Linked DNA regions of Homo sapiens: all the other regions are linked to region 1. Evidence: promoter capture Hi-C in 16 types of primary human blood cells and fetal thymus (Javierre and others, 2016). All regions are on one chromosome and are shown on one strand. Each heading gives the region's core, a stretch centred on a gene start or on the middle of the fragment in contact. The rest is flanking DNA. Distances are from core to core; before and after follow the strand shown. Region 1 holds the start of NPEPL1 (aminopeptidase like 1). Region 2 has its middle 13 kb from the start of ANKRD60. Region 3 overlaps ANKRD60 (ankyrin repeat domain 60).

The links. The method cuts DNA at HindIII sites, captures the fragments that hold promoters and counts their contacts. A CHiCAGO score of 5 or more calls a contact.
Region 2: a contact is called between a fragment that was not itself captured here and the fragment with the promoter of NPEPL1 in region 1, in 10 of 17 cell types (total B cells, naive B cells, megakaryocytes and 7 more). The highest score is 9.9, in total B cells.
Region 3: a fragment that was not itself captured here is called in contact with the fragment with the promoter of NPEPL1 in region 1 in 1 of 17 cell types (activated CD4 T cells); the score reaches 5.2 in activated CD4 T cells.

What each region holds. Positions count from the first base shown.
Region 1 is chr20:58,691,345-58,694,311 of GRCh38, forward strand. NPEPL1 (aminopeptidase like 1) reads left to right here and starts at 1,456. Exons shown (of 12, transcript NM_024663.4): 1 at 1,456-1,706; 2 at 2,393-2,578. The coding sequence starts at 1,557. It overlaps STX16-NPEPL1 (STX16-NPEPL1 readthrough (NMD candidate)), which reads left to right. Exons shown (of 23, transcript NR_037945.1): 10 at 61-218; 11 at 380-436; 12 at 2,393-2,578. RefSeq lists an enhancer at 889-1,594 and silencers at 1,092-1,581, 1,592-1,751, 1,782-1,861, 1,882-1,971. The HindIII fragment of the contact is 11,943 bases long and covers 1-2,967 here.
Region 2 is chr20:58,240,335-58,243,554 of GRCh38, forward strand. It overlaps the pseudogene PPP4R1L. Among named protein-coding and RNA genes, the nearest start is that of ANKRD60, 13 kb to the left of the region's middle. RefSeq lists an enhancer at 1,130-1,630. The HindIII fragment of the contact is 2,151 bases long and covers 394-2,544 here.
Region 3 is chr20:58,220,382-58,223,549 of GRCh38, forward strand. ANKRD60 (ankyrin repeat domain 60) reads right to left here. Exons shown (of 4, transcript NM_001304369.2): 2 at 2,671-2,801; 3 at 957-1,122. Among named protein-coding and RNA genes, the nearest start is that of ANKRD60, 6.7 kb to the right of the region's middle. The HindIII fragment of the contact is 1,720 bases long and covers 938-2,657 here.

The DNA.
Region 1 (2,967 bases), core at 206-2,705:
CCTTTCAGTCATTCAACAGCTTTTTTTTTTTTTTTTTTTTTTTTTTTTTTTTTTTTTGAGTGCCTGCTCTGTGCCAGGAACTGGAGGAAAAAAAAACAACAAAAAGTCAAAAAGACCTGCCTTCAGGATGCTGAAGCTCTAGTCTGTGGTGTTTCCAAGGGGCCAGGGACCATGGCTCAGAGCTGAGCAGACAGACCTGGAGCCTGTGGACAGGGAAGGTGAAAGCCTGGCTTGTGGCTCCCGGGGCTACAAGTTAGGGAGCTAGGGGGCCAGCTGGGAGGTCAGTGGTGGAAAACCTCTCACACCACGCCAGGGAGTTGACAGTGCTTTTTTTTCTTTTTTTCTTTTCTTTTTTTTTTTTTTTTTTTTTCATTTTTAGGCTGGTTATGAAGAAGAAACTCAAAATAACAGGAGTGGCTTATGGAACTACATGGAGGTAACAGAGGAGGGTACCAACCAAAGGCCCTTGAGCAATCAGGATGTTGGGTAACAGATTTTTGCTTTTAAATGACTCCTGGGTGGAGCTTCCCCAATGCATCGTCATTCCCTGACCCTTGCATCTGACCCTGTGGGTGGGACCCTCCGCCTCCACCATCCACTCAAGGCTCACCCCTGGCTCCTCCACCACCCGGCTCCTGCCCCACACCCCCGATGGCCTTTCCTCCCCTGTAAGGCGACTGAGGTGACTCAGGTCACCCTGCTCCTTCCTCGTCTCATCTCGTCCCTCCTTTCCTGCTTAGACTGTGCCAGATGACCCTTCTTGCAAAGGGGTGGGCGGGAAGGCCCCCCATGCAGCCAGGCAGTGCCTGGATTTGTAACTGGCCATCCCAGCAGCAGTGCCCTGGATGGAAAGCCACGTCCCTGTCACCCTCTCACATCCAGGGCAGTGCCTGGCAGAGCGGGGTCTGATAAACGCCAGGGAACCTCCGATTAAGTGAGGAGGAAGTGACCGTCCACGCTGTACCCACCATGCCAGGCAGTGGGACAAAAGGACCTGACTCAGGTCCAAGAGTCACTGGGCCCCTCCGGCCTAACTGATGGGTGGCCAGGGTGCGGGGTCCCTGGGGATCAAAAGCAGCTGCTAAGGGACCTCGGGGGACCTGCTTGGGGCCAGCCTGAGGCCTGACCGGGCGGAACTGCGTCGGGTGGGCTTGGGCCTACGTCGGCCCAGGCCCCACTGGAGGCCAGGCCCGTCCGGGAGGCGCTGCCTGGCGGGCCACGTCGCCCCGCGTGTTGGGCAGGGCCGCTAGGCCCAGGGGCGGCGCCGCTGGAGGCCGGGCGCGCGGGCCCTACTCGGCAGGGCCTGCTCGGGGCCGGCTTCGGGCCTGCCCGGCCGGGCCTGCCCGCACCCTTCCGCCCGGCCTGGCCGGCGCCCCCTCGCGCCCCGGGCGGGCCCTGCACGTCTCGCGAGCAGCCCGGAGCGGCGGGGGAGGCGGGGCCCGCGGGCTGCCGGGCAGGGCCGGGGCGGTGCCGAGGCCGGGCCGGAGCGGGGCGAAGGGGGCCGAGCGGCGGGCCGGGCCGGGCCGGGCAGGGCCGGGGCGTGGGCCGGCAGGAAGATGGCGAACGTGGGGCTGCAGTTCCAGGCGAGCGCGGGGGACTCGGACCCACAGAGCCGGCCCCTGCTGCTGCTCGGGCAGCTGCACCACCTGCACCGCGTGCCCTGGAGCCACGTCCGCGGGAAGCTGCAGCCCCGGGTCACCGAGGAGGTGAGCGGGCCGCCGGCCGCCATGCGACCCGCGCCGCGGAAGCCCAGGCCCGGGCGGCCCGCGGAGGCCCCGCCTCGCCCGCCGCACCCCCGCCGCCGCCGGGCCGGGCCCAACGAGGCCGGGCCGCCTCCCTGAAGGGCTCAGCCGCCAGGCCAGTCCTCGCCCGCGGAGGCCCAGCCCCAGGCCCCGTCGCCGGTGCGGCGCGGTGGTCCTCCTGTCAGCCCAGCCCTGCGCCCCGCGAGGCCGCGACACCTGCGGACGGCGGGGGGGGAGACGTGGCCGCTCCCAGGGCCGCGCGTCGGCCCCGCCTGGCGACAGGCCCTGGCTTCCAGAAGTTCCCATGGCAGTGTCCCCAGCTGCCTTTCCTTGGGGACACCTGGCCCCTGCCCCCTCTCTGGTGGAAGCCGCCTAAGCCCTATCCGAGTGTTGGAAGCAAAGCAGCCCCCAGCCTGGCCCTTCCAGGCTTGGTGGCTTCATCCCACCAGGGGGATGCGAGCCAGCCTAGAGACAGTTAGCTCTGCAGAGAGGCGACACATCTCCCTAAGGATGGGAAAACGGTGGCCGGGAGCTGCGCAGTGCCCTTCCAGGACTGCAGGAGTGGTTGTGGCCGTGGCTGCAGGGCAGGGCCTCCTGGCACGTGGCCGCTGTTTGAAGCCTCTGTGTCTTGTCTCTCCCTTCTGATCTAGCTCTGGCAGGCTGCCCTGAGCACGCTCAACCCCAACCCCACGGACAGCTGTCCCCTCTACCTGAACTACGCCACCGTGGCTGCCCTGCCCTGCAGGGTGAGCCGGCACAACAGCCCCTCGGCCGCCCACTTCATCACGCGGCTGGTGCGGACCTGCCTGCCGCCCGGAGCGCATCGCTGCATTGTGGTGAGTGCTTCGAGAGGAGGCAGCCACGGTGCTCCTAGTCGGGCAGCGGTGAGCTCGGGCCTGGGGAGCTCACAGCCCTGCTCAGACTGCAGCGCACGCCCAGAGGGCTGTGGACGTTATCATCCCTGCTCTGTAGACAGGGAAACAGGTCCAGAGAGACGCGGGGATTTGCCCCAGATCAGTTTTGGTGGCAAATCAGAGACTCAAACCTAGATTTCCTGAGGCCCACTTTGTGTCTGTCCCTCTGTCCCTCATTTTCATGGCTGGTCAGGCTGTTGACATCTGGTGGCCAATGTGTTATTTCTCTTGGAGCATGACCAATGGTGGTCCCATGGTTCCGGGGATGACCTGAGGGATGGGGTGGCGGCTGCTGTGGGACATCTCTGTCT
Region 2 (3,220 bases), core at 219-2,718, 450 kb before region 1:
GAAGCTTAAACACTACCTTACAATTAATTTTTTACAATTAGCAACACGAAATATGAATTAAAATATGTAATCAATATTGATAGAAGAAAAAATATTTGGTTCCAATTCTTAAAGTTAACTTTAAGAAAATACACAGTTTTGAGTTGCCTCCCCGCCCCCCCGCCCCCGAAAGAAACGAACCTGTAATTTAGATTTATTCTCTTCAAGTGGGGTGGGATCCTGCCTCTGGTCAGTCTCCAGATGGTCACTGGTTCCATTTCTGGGTCCACCTGGATCCTACAGAGTTGATTGGACATGTTACCAATTTGCTCCAAAGGAAGCAGCTGTCCTGTCACTTCCCCTTCAAAGAGTCCTTTTTCAATGCCAGAAATTACTTCTGTAAGCCAAGGCAAAAGCTTTCCTTGAAGTCAATGGTATCTTTCCAGATGTTAAAAATTACATTTGCACAGTTACATATGATACTGTATAAACCAGTTCTTTTAAGTGCAAAGGAAAATTGATTTCATACATTTTAATTTCAAGACTGCTGGAGGTCCTTACAGAAATACAAAGGCTAAAGTGAAAGCACTGAGGAGCAACCCTGTGAGTTTGCATCCACTATTCCTTATGCCCTAGGGACTCCCTGGTATGGCTAACCAACACCTTTAAGTAATATTCACATGTTTAAGGCACAGACTACTCCAGAAGGGTGAGGTTTGCAAGAAGTGGTAGAGCCAGCACCTCCAGCATTTCTTGGTAATCAGGGATTGCAGCAATGGTGGGTCCCTGAAAGAGGATGGGGGCTGGGGAACCCAATGAATCTGAGAGAAAAGATGTGGCTGATACAGGAGTATTTAATCAGAAAATTGTCCTAGATTTTCACAGGTACAAACACTCCTGATGTTCGCTGATAAACCTTTACATTAGGTAAACAATTAAAATGAACAAGAACATTCAATGGTGACATTTTGGTCTCTGATCGTTGATTAACATTAACTGAGATGGACCTGACCTTCTCCTTCAACCATAACATGGATTTCCAAGTTGCACTTGAAATGTCATACTGTCTACCAGCTTAATGGATTCTGACAAATCAGCTCAATGTATGATCCAGGAAAGTCGATTAACACACCGATAGATGCTTCGTTTGCTCTGAGGCGCGCCACCAGAACCTTCAATTCCCAAGGTTTTCACTGATATGTACTATTTATTTTAACAGAGGACATGATAAAACAGAAATATTTTGGTATAAAAACCTAAGACCTCAATTTCTTGTGGTCTTATTATTAATAAATTCACATATAGTAACAAGATGTGTCATTAGAATCACTATTATCCCTTTAGAAATTAATTTTATTCCAAAGTCTTCAGTGCAAGCATATGTGCAGCACTTAATCCAGGAGCCAAATCAAGGCTTAAGCAAATCACCACAAGTCATGGCACCTCCAGAAGGTATTGTGAGTTCCCCAAACCCCAGTGGGACACCATGCTGGCTGGCTACCTGTGCACCCACCACTCAGCATCCAGCAGCCTTCTTTCTAGCAGGATCCCGACTCAGGGGGCTCCCATGTTTCTGCCCAGTTCACCATGCTCAACCCATGAATGCACACCGTGACTGTGGCCAGGAAGAGGGAGGCAGAAGGAGAGGGCAGGGAGGTGGTTTCCCGCCTGGGGTGTCCTTGTTCTTCAAAAGAGACAAGTGGGAAGACACAGGCCCCGCCTTCCACTGGGCATTTCATGCTGACAAAAGCCACCACAGCAGAGGGGAAGGGTGGACAGATCAGCACCAAAGGTATGGAGTCTAGCAGCCCAGAAGCTGCCCAACCACAGCACTTCTTCCTCTTGTCTTGTGCAAGAGAACATTTTCCTCATGGTTCTTGGAGTTTTTTATTTCCTCTCCCTTCTTTTGCGACAGGAAGCATCCTAATTAATCCCACTAGGATCTTGGAGTCAAGCCGCAAATTCAAGGGCTCTGCCCTCCCACACCATAAAACAGGCTCCATTACACAAACCCTTTTAAAGCTGCAACTCAAAAGCCCCAGCCTGGAGGAATCTGTTCTTTTTTTTTTTTTTCACCTCTATGATAAAGAAGTCCAAATACTATCACATCCCCACCAAGGTAAATGTGGTCACACCCTTCTACTTAACACTTGCAACTTTTGCACTCTAGGTAACAAGGTTGACAATAATGAGCTTTCTTGCTAATTTTTTTAGCAACAAACCAGCAGAAGAGGATATCACCCCATTTCTTATTAATCACAGATAACCAACTCCTACACATTTTATGTTTGAGTTCTAAAATGTTTTATTTTGCTTTATTAGAGCAGGCCTAAGGGGTAAGGGAGGTGTTAATCACTGAAATCAAGTTCTAAACTGTATGAATAGAGAAACAACTGGTATTTAGGCCCTGGAGACCATGAGATTGAAGAGATTATCCATCATGGCACATGATAATGACACGGTGCTATCCCAATGACTGTATGACCACAGACTCCTCCCTCATTTTAATCCTCCATTCTGCCCCCCTACCTGTGGAAGACCCCAACTTAAAGTGGTCCAAGTGGAAGCTTAGTAGAAACTAGGACAGCTCAAGAACCTCCAGCTACAAGGGGTTGACCCAAGCTCCTGGAGAAACCTGAAGAAATAAATCATGGGCCCCTCTTCACTCCAGCTTTGGGGCCGTGGTCTCACAAGGGGCTGGTTCCACCCACAGGAGGAAGGGGGTCACTGGTGCTTTTTCAAAAGAAAGAGAAACAGCATGCCAGGACCAGCACTGGAGCATCCACGTATGCCAGAGCGCCTACCAAATGGGCGGCTGGTGTGACAGCTGCTCTGGGAGGCCTCGTCCACTTGAAATTCCAGGAACTGCCTGAATTCACCCTCCACTATTATTAAAAGATGTTGATGTCTGTTAGCAGTGACACAGAGCATTTACATGGTTAACCTCCCCAAAGAAGAAGTTCTTGTCATCTCTGGAGAAGAGGGAAGGTACTTTCTGGTGCCCACCCGTCTTCGTGGGAGCGCGTCGGCACTATCAATCACCTGATTGATTGGTTGTCTAGTTATCCAAAACATGACCTTAAGAATAAAATGAAATTTGCCATTTATCATCTCTGCTGGGATATATTAATAAGAGAAAATGCTGCTTTGTGATTTCTGTCACATCCTCGGTGGCTGAGGGATACGGCAAATACTTACTGGGCTTTGTAATATCCTGGCCACAAAGAGCTCATCCTGAGAT
Region 3 (3,168 bases), core at 548-3,047, 470 kb before region 1:
TCCCACATCCAGGGAGGATAGAGTGTACACCTATGGAATACTATGTAAAGCTCTTTAATTTGGAGACAATGTTGGCTAAGGCTTCTGTTTCTATCTATCAAGAGAGCCAGAGAGAGAGAGAGAGAGAGAGAGAGAGAGAGAGTGGAAGGAGGCCCTTAAGTGGAGGTGGGTTGAAAAGAGAGTTCAGCATGAATGTCTTGTGAGAAAATAATAACGAGGCTTGGAGAAGGGAGAATGGTGATCCTGCCATCCACCACAGAGCTGTGCTGGCTGGAAGGTGGACTATTTTGGGGTTTTTTCTAGTGTGTGTGTGTGTGTGTGTGTGTGTGTGTGTGTGTGTGTGTGTGTTGTAGTCTCCTATCTCAGCCTCCTGAGTAGCTGGGACTACAGGTACGTGCCACCACACCCAGCTAATTTTTGTATTTTTAGTAGAGACGGGGTTTCACCAGGCTGGTTGGCCAGGCTGGTTGTGAACTCCTGACCTCATGTGATCTGCCCGCCTCAGCCTTCCAAAGTGCTGAGATTACAGGCATGAGCCACCGTGCCTGGCCAGAGGCTAGACCATTTCGGACCATTGCAGCATCCTAATTTCATGCGAGGCTGGAAATCACACAGACAGCATGCGAATATTCCCAGCAATGTGTCTGGTGAGAAATGAACCAGGGATCCTTTATAGCTGCCGCCTGTGTCTTGGGTCCTGAAATTTCTGCCTCACTGAAGCAGAAAGAATCTTCTCGAGACCTGGTGAAGAGAAGGAGGGCAGCCTCTGACTGGCGTGCCCTAAGACACTTGCCTAGACAGGGAGTGAGTGGCACCATGGGGACCCTGACTGGTGGCTGACAAGACACAGGTCCAGGAAACCACTGCTGGAAGGACTGGGAACACAAGACACTCTGTCCTTTCTACCTGCAAAAAATCCCAACTCATGAATATAGCAAGCTTTCTACCAGAATTACCGTGTTCTAGAAGGTACTGCACAGCATCAAAGTGGCCTCTGTGTGAGGCCACATACAACGCCACAAACGCCCTCTGAGACGTCCAGTGCTTCCACTTCTCACCCTCAAAATGTTCTGAATTTGCGGTTCGGTAGAAGGAATCTTCAGTAAGCCCGAGACAAGATAGCTGGGCAAGACAAGAGGAGTTTGAGTTATTCTCAAAAGCGTGGCTACATTTTGCTGGACGGCTGATGGGGCATGCTCAGGGGAAGGCTTGCTTGAATGTCAAATTAAGGCTCATGATGGGAAAAGAGAGGTGCAAACCCTCATGAAAAGCTGAGAAACACCCAGGACAGCATGGGGAGGCCATGATTTAATGCTTTATATATGTTCAGGAAATACGAATTCGCCGTCAGTCAGGCTCGGAACACAGGAAGGTCTTCCTGTCAATGTTTTGAAGAGAGAAAATAGCTTTGCCAGGTGTCCACAGGAAGGTGGTTGAAGCCACTGAGGAAGACACCAGCCAATATAAATGGCCTCCCAGAGGGTGACAGTCATCTCTTGGAGACCGGATCTGGCTTTCCCGTCTATTTGTGTGCCCACTGTCTCCATTAGGTTTCAGAGCAAGCTGAACATGCACAGGTGAACAGCCCGGTCACGTAACCACCTCGTGGTGAATTAAGTCTTTGAGCCTGGGAGGAAGGCTACGGGTTCCCCCAGGGAGGATACTCTGCCCTGATATGGGAGTCAGGACTGGGGCAGTGGGAGGATCAGAATCGAGACGAGGATGATGGCAATTCTGACAGCCTCAAACAGCAGGGAGGTGACCCCTGCAGCCAGAGTAAGAGCCAGAAAACCAAGCATGGACCACACTGCTGGTGACAAAGGGCAGGGAGACAGAAGGGGCAGAGGAGAGTGTGGAGGAGGAGGAGCGGGAGGGACTAGGAGATGTGTCAGGGCTGGGACAGGGCCCCATCCTGCCTACCCTCCCTGCCAAGGCTGCCTCCTGCCGCACCTGCCCCGAGCCCACGCACTCTTCCAAGAGCGCCAATCCCAGCCCCTGCTACACCCAGCCTTCCCTGACCCCTTTCTGAGCAAAGAAACTCCATCTCTTCTTCTCCAGGAGCACATAGCTTTCCATCCGAATTTCTTTTCTAGGAAGAATATAGCATTGCCCCTCGTGTCACAGTGATTCATCTTCCCTGTTGGGTACACATCTGGTTTCTATCCTCCTGCCCCCCACTGCCCACCCCTAGAGCCCAGCTGAGAGGCCAGCAGGAGCCCTGGAGGACAGAGCGCCCGCCGCTCACCCCGGGAACGAGGGGCCTCTCCCTCCGGAACCAGGCAGCACCTGGCGGAGGCCTGTACCACAGCCCCGAGCTCTGAGCTGTACGCTTCTCAGTTATCTGGAGTTCTCCTCTCAGTATTAAATTAGATTTCCAACCTTATCACTTATAAACATGAATAGAAACGTGCTGCCTCGACTCCTTTGCGGGGAGGGGTGGGGCGGTAAGTGGGTTATAAATCACAAATCGATAAACCCAGCAAAATGGTAAACCCAAGGAGTGAAGGCAAACCCTCAGTGCGGTATTTCATAATTATGACACGGCTCATCGTTCTCTCTTCCCTGCTCTGAAACTGTTATTCACATATCCGTATTAAAGACTAATTTTCCCCCCACAATTTACGGTTGCTTCGTAACGTATAATATCCATTTAAAGAAGCTTGAAAACACCTTGCTGGGATCCCCTTCCACAGCCGCCAAAACAAGTTCTGTCCATCCGTCATGATGCCAGATACATAATGAAATAATCCCTCCAGGAACAACATCATGGAACTTCAGGGTAGTGTCATCCATCAAAACTCCTGCAGGGAAAAATTTTTTTTCTTTTAAAAAATTGGGTATTAAAGATAAACTACTACATTGGTTAAGTTAAGAGATTATCTGACCTTGAGTGCCACAAAGATAATTTTAGAAATATCGAATACAAATCTCATTTGATGGTGTCGCGTGGGTCTGTCTGTTGTTGGTAATGCTTTTCAGAAAATAAATTTGGTTCAGCTCAGATGGAAGCCGAACAAAATCACAATGCCAACGATTTATAAAATTCTGTAATTATAACTTGTCCTATTGTGAAAAGGCACATGAGTCAGTAAAGTCATTTTATGAGGCAAACTCTACAAATAGAATGACTTAAACCTGAAGTAACCAGTCATTAGACACACAGCACAA